3 separate regions of the Homo sapiens genome follow, and regions 1 and 2 are each linked to region 3. Evidence: promoter capture Hi-C in human tissues and cell types (Jung and others, 2019). All regions are on one chromosome and are shown on one strand. Each heading gives the region's core, a stretch centred on a gene start or on the middle of the fragment in contact. The rest is flanking DNA. Distances are from core to core; before and after follow the strand shown.

Region 1 (3,209 bases), core at 530-3,029, 41 kb before region 3:
CATCCTTCTACTCTCTATGTCCATTAGTTCAATTCTTTTGATTTTTAGATCCCACAAATAAATGAGAACAGAATGGGAGAAAATGTGATTTTTTTTTTTTTGAGATGAAGTCTTGCTTTGTTGCCCAGGCTGGAGTGCAGTGGCACGACCTTGGCTCACTGCAACCTCTGCCTCCACCGTTCAAGTGATTCTCCTCTCTCAGCCTCCCGAGTATCTGGGATTACAGGTACCCACCACCATGCCTGGCTAATTTTTTGTATTTTTTAGTAGGTACGAGGTTTCACCATCTTGGCCAGGCTGTTCTCAAACTCCTGACCTCAAGCAATCTGCCCGCCTTGGCCTCCCAAAGTGTTGGGATTACAAGCATGAGCCACCATGCCCAGCGTCATTTACTTGGATTTTAAAAAATAATAATAAATGATTGGTTTAGCCACTGTGCCCGGCCATGATGTTTGTCTTTCTGTGCCTGGTTTATTTTGCTTAACATAATGATTTCTAGTTCCACTCATGTTGTTGCAAATGACAGGATCTCATTAATTTTAATGGCTGAATAGTACTCCATTGTGTATATGTACCACACTTTCTTTATCCATTCATTTGTTGATGGATACTTAGGTTGCTTCCAAAATGTTAGCTATTGTAAACAGTGCTGCAACAAACACAGGAGTGCAGATATCTCTTCAATATACTAACTTCCTTTCTTTTGGATATGTACCCAGCAATGGGATTACTGGATCATATGGGAGCTCTATTTTTAGATTTTTGAGGAACCTCCAAACTGTTCTCCCTATTGGTTATACTAATTTACATCCCCACCAACAGTGTATGAGGATTCCCTTTCCTCCACATCCTTGTCAGCATTTGTTATTGTCTGTCTTTTGTATATAAGCCTTTTAGCCATTTAACTGAGGTGTGATGTTATCTCATTGTAGTTTTGATTTGCATTTCTCTGATGATCACTGACATTGAGCACCTTTTCATATGCCTGTTTGCCATTCATATGTTTCTTTTGAGAAGTGTCTATTTAAGTCTTTTACCCATTTTTTGATCAGATTATTAGATTTTTTTCCTATAGAGTTGTTTGAGCTCCTTATGTATTCTGGTTATTAATCCTTTGTCAGATGGGTAGTTTGCAAATATTTTCTCTCATTCTGTGGCTTGTCTCATTACTTTGTTGGCTGGTTCCTCTGGTGTATAGAAGCTTTTTAATTTGATATGATCCCATTTGTTCATTTTTGCTTTGGTTGCCAGTGCTTGTGTGATATTACTCAAGACGTTTTTGCCCATACTAATGTCCTGGAGAGTTTCCCTGTTTTCTTGTAGTAGTTTCATATTTTGAGGTCTTAGATTTAAGTCTTCAATCCATTTTGATTTGATTTTGTATATAGCAAGAGACAGAGGTCCAGTTTCATTCTTCTGCATATGGATATCCAGTTTTCCCAGTACTATTTATTGAAGAGACTGCCTTTTCCCCCAGTGTATGTTCTTGGCACTTTTTGTCAAAAATGAGTTCAATGTAGGTGTGTGGATTTGTTCTGGGTTCTCTATTCTGTTCCATTGGTCTATGTGTATCTTTCAATGCCAGTACCATGTTGTTTTGGTTACCGTAGCTCTACAGTATAGTTTGAAGGCAGGTAATGTAATTCCTCCAGTTTTGTTCTTTTTGCTTAGGAAAGCTTTGACTATTTGGGACCTTCTGTGGCTCTATATAAATTTTAGGATTTTTTTTCTATTTCTGTGAAGAGTACCATTGATATTTTGATACAAATTGCATTGAATTTGGAGATTGGTTTGGGTAGTATGGACATTTTAACAATATTGATTCTTCCAATCCATGAACATGGAATATCTTTCATTTTTTTGTGTTCTCTTCAATTTCTTTCATCAGTGTTTTATAGTTTTCATTGTAGAGATCTTTCACTTCTTTAGTCATGTTAATTCCTAGGTATTTATCTGTATGTGTGGCTATTATAAATGGAATTAATTTTATTTCTTTTGCAGATTATTTGCTATTGGCATATAGAAATACTACTGATTTTCATATGTTGATTTTGTATCCTGCAACTTCACTGAATTTATCAGTTCTAATAGTTTTTGGTGGCACCTTTAGGTTTTCCTAAATATAATATCATATCATCTGCAAACAAGGATAATTTCATTTCATTTCCAATTTGAATGCCCTTGATTTCTTTCTCTTCTCTGATTGCCCTAGCAAGGACTTTCTGCACTATGTTGAGTAACAGTGGAGAAAGTGGGCATCCTTGCCTTGTTCCAGATCTCAGAGAAAAGGCTTTCAATTTTTTCCCATTCAGTATGATACTAGCTATGGGTCTGTTATATATGGCTTTTATTATGTTGAGGTATGTTTCTTCTATCCCCAGTTTTTTTTTTTATTCAGGAAGGGATGTTGAAATTTATCAAATGCTTTTTCATCATCAATAGAAATGAACATATGGTTTTTACCCTTCATCCTGTGGATATGATGTATCACACTGATTGATTTGCATATATTTAACCATGCTTGCATCCCAGGGATAAATCCCACTTGGTTATAATGAATGATATTTCTAATGTATTGCTAAATTTAGTTTGCTAGTATTTTGTTGAGGATTTTTTTGCATCAGTATTCATCAGAGATATTGGCCTAAAGTTTTCTTTTTTTTTCTTTTTTTGATGTGTCTTTTTCTGCTTTTGGTATCACCATAATACTGGCCTCATAGAATGAGTTTGGAGGTATTCCCTCCTTTTCTACTTTTTGAAACAGTTTGAATAGGATTGGTATTAGTTCTTCTTTAAATGTTTGGTAGAAATTCACTGTGAAGCCACTGGGTCCTGGGCTTTTCTTTACTACGAGACTTTTTATTGTGACTTCAATCTCATTACTTGTTAAAATTGGTCTGTTCAAGTTTTGAATTTCTTTCTCTTTCAATCTTGGTAGATTGTGTATGTCTAGGAATGTGTCCATTTCTTCTAGATTTTCCAATTTATTGGCATATTGTTGCTCATAGTAGCCACTAATGATCCTTTGAATTTCTGCAGTATCCAGTTGTAATGTCTCCTTTTTCATCTCTGACTTTATTTATTTGGATTTTATCTATTTTTTTCTTAGTTAATCTGGCTAAAGGTCTGTCAATTTTAACTTTTCAAAAAACCAACTTTTTGTTTCATTGATGTTTTGTGTTGTTTTCCTCATTTCAAATTCATTTATT
Region 2 (3,204 bases), core at 57-2,556, 42 kb after region 3:
GCCCTTCCACTTGTGAGGGGAAAAAATGACACAGACATCAGGGGTGTTGCACTGATTCCCAGTCACCCACAGACCCTCACCACCATCTCCACTGGAAAATGCTGAACACTCACCACTGCTAGGGTAGCATAAAATACATGAATGGCAGACAACAGAGAGATCGCCAACAGTGTCATGATGGAAAGAAAATTACCTCTATCAAGTCTCATTTTCATCAATAGGATAACAGGAAATTCTCTAATTTCTGGAAGATTTATAGGTTGCACCACAAACTTCAGAATAGATTGTAAATAAAGCCCTGTGAATGAAAGGCAGGCTAATCTGTGGAGTCACTAATCTGTAAAGTTCATCTGAAGATGTAAGATTCATCTGAAGTTGGGGTCTGCATAAAATCTGTCCTTTGAAGCCAGAGTGAAAGTCACCCAGCAATCTTCTATGAAGATCTCAGTCATCTGACACCTAATACTATGAGTTCAGCCAGGAGAAAGAAAGGGACAATAGTTCACTTACTTAAAATGGTCAAAATTAGAACACTGACCTTCTCGGTATAGATTCATTTATCCATCAATTTATAAATCATGTTGAAAGCACAACTGGTTTTGTTTCTAAGGGTGTGTTTTTACATTTTAATATGTTGTTTGAAAGCTGCTATTTCCTGTGCAGTCCGAAGAAAATATGTTCAACTTGATACAAACTAACTTCATCAAATCAATGAGGCCTCCTATTAACTGGGAAATCTTGCTTATGTTATATATATATATATCTGTAAAAAAAAAAAAAGATTTGAATTATTTCTTCTCCAAGTGGGAAAAGCTTTATTGTTTTTTTCCGATTACAAAATAGTGTAGTTCAAGTCAATAAAAAAGAAAGGACAAAATATAACTTAAATGTTATCAAAATACTAATTAAAATCTCACCACTGCCTGGACTTCCGTTTCTGCCCCCTCACCCAATGTTGGTGTAGAGACTGAACACGGAAAAGTGTAGAAATTTAAGAAAGGGGCTGCAGAAGTTTCAGAGCCAAGGAAAGGATGAGACAATTCCCCAAGAAGTGTAAATGAAGGGTAGACTCAGGAAAAGATGCTGCCCCTTCCTAAAGATGCTGCCCCTTCCTGGAATTAGAGAAACATAAATTCAAACACCAGAAAGACAGGGCCACTTCTGGTTTCTGGTATTGTTACAGAGGAAAAAAGTGACAGGGCCCACTGTGGGGGTTGAGGGGGAGATACAAGGCAGGCTGGCGCCTGCCGCACTGCTTGTGGGAGTGGAAATTGGGGGCCAGAGCGCACTGGTGACGTGGCCGTCACGTGACCAAGAGCCGCCTAGAGCACAAGTCCTGCTAGTCGCCTCCGTCTGGGTACCAGCCCCCTATTACTCTGCAGGCGTGTGAAGAAAGAAGGAAACTAGCTCGGACCGTGCAGGTCGGTGCGAGGGTGGGCGCTGCTTGAGAGGAGGTATGGGTGGAAGAGGGCCAAGAACGCCACAGATCCGAGTTCAGGCCGATCACAGCTGGGTCCCTTTCTCGCCTACTTTCTAAATACTGCTACCCACCCCCACCCCACCCCGTGCTCATTTTAGTAGAGAGAAGTGGCGGGTTTCGGGTGGGGGTGAGGGGAGTGAATGGCGTTTCCAGAGACTCCGAGAAAAGAAAGGTTCTAGTGTCCCGGGTGCTGGTCCGTCCACCAAGCACTCCGTCCCCTCGGTCCCTTGTCTGTTTGCAGGTTTGTAGGTCTGTTGGCCTGTAGGTTTCGGCACAAGTTTCAGCGAGAGAAGGAGAAAACTGCCTTGGTTGGAACCTTGCAGGTCAGTGTGAAGGTGGGATTAGCCCAGGACCATGGGTGGGGGTGGCGGAGGAGGGGGGCTGGGATATGAGAGGGCCAGGTCCGAGTCGCCCTCTCCTGGCCCCTTCTTTCTCCACACCCACTCCCATTTCAGTGCAGGGAAAGGGGTGTGGCGGCCTTTGCTGGGGAAATGGCGGACGACAAGTGGGGCGGAGGAGGCCTGCGTCCGGAAAGTCAGTAGAGTATGAGAAATATTTTAAACTCAAGTGTCTAAAATTCACAAAAACAGAAATTGGGACCTGTGTCCTCAGTTCATCCACTACACTTTCATTTCTCCATTGCCGCCTACCTGTCTTTGCATTTGTCCTTCTGCCAGACTCTATCCTCTATCACCGTGGAGGGACCACTGACAACAGAAGACAAGGGAAAACGAAGGAATTTATCTGACTTTGGTAGAGGTTAATGAGAGAAACTGCCCTTAATCTTTGGGGGTGGAGGTCTGGTGTAGGAGACTACCTGAGAGGTACTCACACTGTCACCCTCCTAGCTATCATAGCAGAGACCCATCTCCTGCCCTTCCCTGTGGACCCAGGAAGAGAAATGGGGGCTCCTGAGGTCGATAGAGGAAGACAGAAAAGAAAAGAACAAAGAAATTGTATCCTGTTAATCTGCCTTTATCACCAACTCGAAATCCACCCTGTCTGTGAGGCACAAAGCCAAACATAGTCCCGAGCCCTAATACTCTGTTTCACCCACAGATTCATCACAAGAGAGCTACAAGAGCCTGGAAGAAGCTGAAGACTGCTACCCTCCATCCTTACTCACCCTGGACCTGAGAGACCTCTTCAATCAGGTGGAGCAAGGCCCTCTCCTGTCCTGCCCCAAGGCTGGCACAGACTTGAGCATGGGCCGGGCTCGGGAAGTGGGTTGGATGGCGGCAGGACTGATGATTGGGGCTGGTGCCTGCTACTGCGTTTACAAACTGACCATAGGAAGAGATGACAGTGAGAAGCTGGAGGAGGAGGGGGAAGAGGAGTGGGACGATGACCAGGAGCTGGATGAGGAGGAGCCTGATATTTGGTTTGATTTTGAAACTATGGCTCGGCCCTGGACTGAGGATGGGGATTGGACTGAACCTGGGGCCCCAGGTGGCACTGAGGACAGGCCCTCAGGGGGAGGCAAGGCCAACCGAGCACACCCAATAAAACAGCGGCCATTCCCCTATGAACATAAAAATACTTGGAGTGCTCAAAATTGTAAAAATGGCAGTTGTGTTCTGGACCTCTCCAAGTGTCTTTTCATTCAGGGAAAACTGTTGTTTGCCGAGCCCAAGGATGCGGGCTTTCCATTTAGCCAGGATATCAATAGCCATTTGGCCAGCCTCTCAATGGCTAGAAACACGAGCCCCACTCCAGACCCCACT
Region 3 (2,822 bases), core at 254-2,753:
TAGGCCAAGTGGTAGTAGCAGACAGTGTTTGGAGCAAGGTTCACTGGTAACCACGAATAAGGACAGACAGCAGTCAGGCCTGGGAACTTCCCCCAACAATCACTTTTTGTGTGATCACAAAAACCTTTTTGTGAAATCACAGGTTTCACAAATCGTCAGCTGCAGGGTCAGGTAAGAACAGCAATCCTTTCTATGCATCAATGGGTTTCCTCTGGGAACTTGGGGGAGGGACGGAAAGAGCCAAAGACATTTAACCAGGTCTGCATCTTGGTCACTTGTCTGGATATATTTTGGGTGTGAGCAACTGAGCCAGGTACCTGAATGCAGGAGATGAGCGGCTCTGGCATATGGGAGGGAGTAGAGAGACAGCATCTCCCTCCTCCTCCTGACAGGGCAGGGAGGATTTGACCACTCTGCACCCACCACACTCAGTTTCCTTGGCCTCACAGCTCTTCCTTTTGCCCAGAGTTGAATCATTAACTGGAACCTAATCCGAAGACAGGTGTTTAAAACTGTCATGGTTACAGCCATCAAATTACAGGAGGTTCACACACAGCAGTCAGCAATGGTTTGGGAATATTAAATAAATGTGTTTCTCTAACAGGACAAGACAGGATCATTTATTTATGCAACTTAAAAGCTGTCCCAGAAGGAGAAAAAAGTAGCGTATTATTTGTCCAAAATAAACAAGATTGAAGAACTGAACATCTCTCTGTGGATCAATTTACAGATCACATGGAAATATGCTTATCTTATTGAGAAATATTCCATTTTAGATGTTCAAATACCTTAGCATATTTTAAAAACTATTTCCTATGTGACCAAAAGAATTCATGTTCTATTCGGTAAAAATTAACCAAAATTAATGGTGCTTTCCAATGGACGCAGGAAACCTTTTTTCTTTACAAAACATGCCCACCCTTTTTTTGTTGCTACTTCCCACATTGAATTCTTGTTTTACTGAATTTTCTTACTATAAAAATAAAGCATGATGATAGTTTTGAAAACAAAACAGAAGTATTTGAGAAGTACAGACCCCACTCCCACTCCTTGTCTCCTTTCTGACACTCTGCCCCTTAACTATACTGGAACAGGGAGTCAACTGCAAGGAAAATCCTGGGGACTAGGGGCTGAGGAACTAGAGGTGGAGAGATGGAAGAGTGTCCAGTAGCCCAGGAAAGGATGAAACAATTCCCCAACAAAAAAGTAAAAATTTTCAGTAGCCCTCCGAGAAGATGCAGCCCCTCCCAGGTAACCAGAGAAAGGCAAATTGTGAAAGCAGGGAGAAGGGGCTACTTTAGGCCTCCAGGACTACAAAGACAAAAAAATGAGTGACAGGACCTGATGTGGTGGGGTGAGATGGGAATGGAAGTAAAGGAGGGGGCTCGTACTCTTGGTGGGAGTGGAAATTGGGGACCCAAGCTTACTGGCGATGCAGCCCTCACGTGACCAGGAGCTGACGTGGGCAAAGGTACTTAAAGCCCTGACCGTCGTTCTCCGTCCTCCTCTGGGTACCAACTCTATTGCGCAGCTCGCTGCCGTGCGTTTAACCCAGGCGAGGAGGAGGAGGAGAAAATTCCCCCAGATTCGGGCAGGTGGGTGTGAGGGTGGGCACAGTCTGGGACCCCTGAATAGGGGTAATCTAGGGATGCGGGAGTCGGAGGCCGCGGGTGCCTCGGTCTCCCCCACTCCTGGCCGGCTTTCCAGACCTGAGGTGCTCAAACGCGGCTCATTTTGGTGGGCGGTGGGGAAAGGGGGAGGGGGAAACGAAAAGACTTTTGATAGACTTTACGAAGAATCCGCTTACTTCCTTTCCAGCCAGTGTTTTTTGGTTTTGTTTATAATATTCAGGCCCGCACCCCACATTCCGTCCTGTTTTGAGAGGAGGAGGGAAGAGAAATAAACGTGGCAGCGCATAGAAGGCCAGCAGGGAGGTTGGGAAAGGGTAACCAGGAGGCGGGGGTGGGGCATGCAATTTGGTAACAATCTGGGCGGCACACTCCCACCCTGACTTTCCCCACCACCGCCCCGGCACCCTCCCATCCCCCAGCCGACCCTCTGTGATTTGGGAGTGCTGGGAAATGGGTGTACCAGCTGCTGTTGGAGAGGTGGCGGGTTTGGCGCTGTCTGGGCTTCACGGGAGGTGGGGGGGAGGGGGCGGACCCTGAGAGAATCTGGTATTAAACCGCCTTGTTAACTCGCAGACTGCTTTCCAGACACCTCCGGCCCACACAGCCGTTCACCCCCCGTCTTTTCAGTCCTGGAAAAGGAATTCGGGTATGCAGGCGGGAGAAATGGCGGTTGTTGGGGGGATTTGTGGGAAGTGGGAGGTAGAGCCCATAGCAGAGAAATCGTGGAAAATCTCGACCCTGAACCCGAAAAGGCAGACGTTGAGGCCCCTCTTCTGCAGGCTAACGCTAGGCCTAGGGGCTGGGGAGCGAAAGATGGGTGATCCTGGGAGGGGAACACTGAATTGTTTGGCAGGAGTCCCCCATACCGCGTCCCATCCAGCTTTTGCTGCACCCTCGCCCCGCTCCCCTCCCGCTTCGTTGCAGGAGAAGGGGTGTGGCGGTGTGTCCTGGAGAAATGGCGGACGGGGGCGGGGCAAAGCGGAAGGAGGGATTGAGTGCCTGGGGAGCCTGCGCAGGAGGAGGATTGAGGTGGGAGGGGTGGGGTGAGAAGAGTTGAAGGAATTGAGAGGTAGAATCATTTGACATTCTGATGTGCAAACACGAAAAGGCAGTTACTGAGACCCTTGTCCTGGATGCTGATCCATCCACCAGGCTTTCATTGTCTAACGTCGACAGTCTATATTTCTGCTC

What was found. The method cuts DNA at HindIII sites, captures the fragments that hold promoters and counts their contacts. A contact is called where the count stands out against the background at its distance.
Region 1: a contact is called between a fragment that was not itself captured here and the fragment with the promoter of ARMCX2 in region 3, in 2 of the 25 tissues and cell types used here (dorsolateral prefrontal cortex and hippocampus).
Region 2: a contact is called between the fragment with the promoter of ARMCX6 here and the fragment with the promoter of ARMCX2 in region 3, in 1 of the 25 tissues and cell types used here (hippocampus).

The regions. Positions count from the first base shown.
Region 1 is chrX:101,699,618-101,702,826 of GRCh38, reverse strand. No RefSeq gene overlaps it. Among named protein-coding and RNA genes, the nearest start is that of ARMCX2, 41 kb to the right of the region's middle. The HindIII fragment of the contact is 4,608 bases long and covers 1-3,209 here.
Region 2 is chrX:101,616,102-101,619,305 of GRCh38, reverse strand. It overlaps ARMCX6 (armadillo repeat containing X-linked 6), which reads left to right and starts at 1,306. Exons shown (of 3, transcript NM_019007.4): 1 at 1,306-1,421; 2 at 1,722-1,803; 3 at 2,540-3,204. The coding sequence starts at 2,686. The HindIII fragment of the contact is 6,377 bases long and covers 110-3,204 here.
Region 3 is chrX:101,658,531-101,661,352 of GRCh38, reverse strand. ARMCX2 (armadillo repeat containing X-linked 2) reads left to right here and starts at 1,503. Exons shown (of 6, transcript NM_177949.4): 1 at 1,503-1,595; 2 at 1,852-1,934; 3 at 2,205-2,277. The HindIII fragment of the contact is 6,606 bases long and covers 601-2,822 here.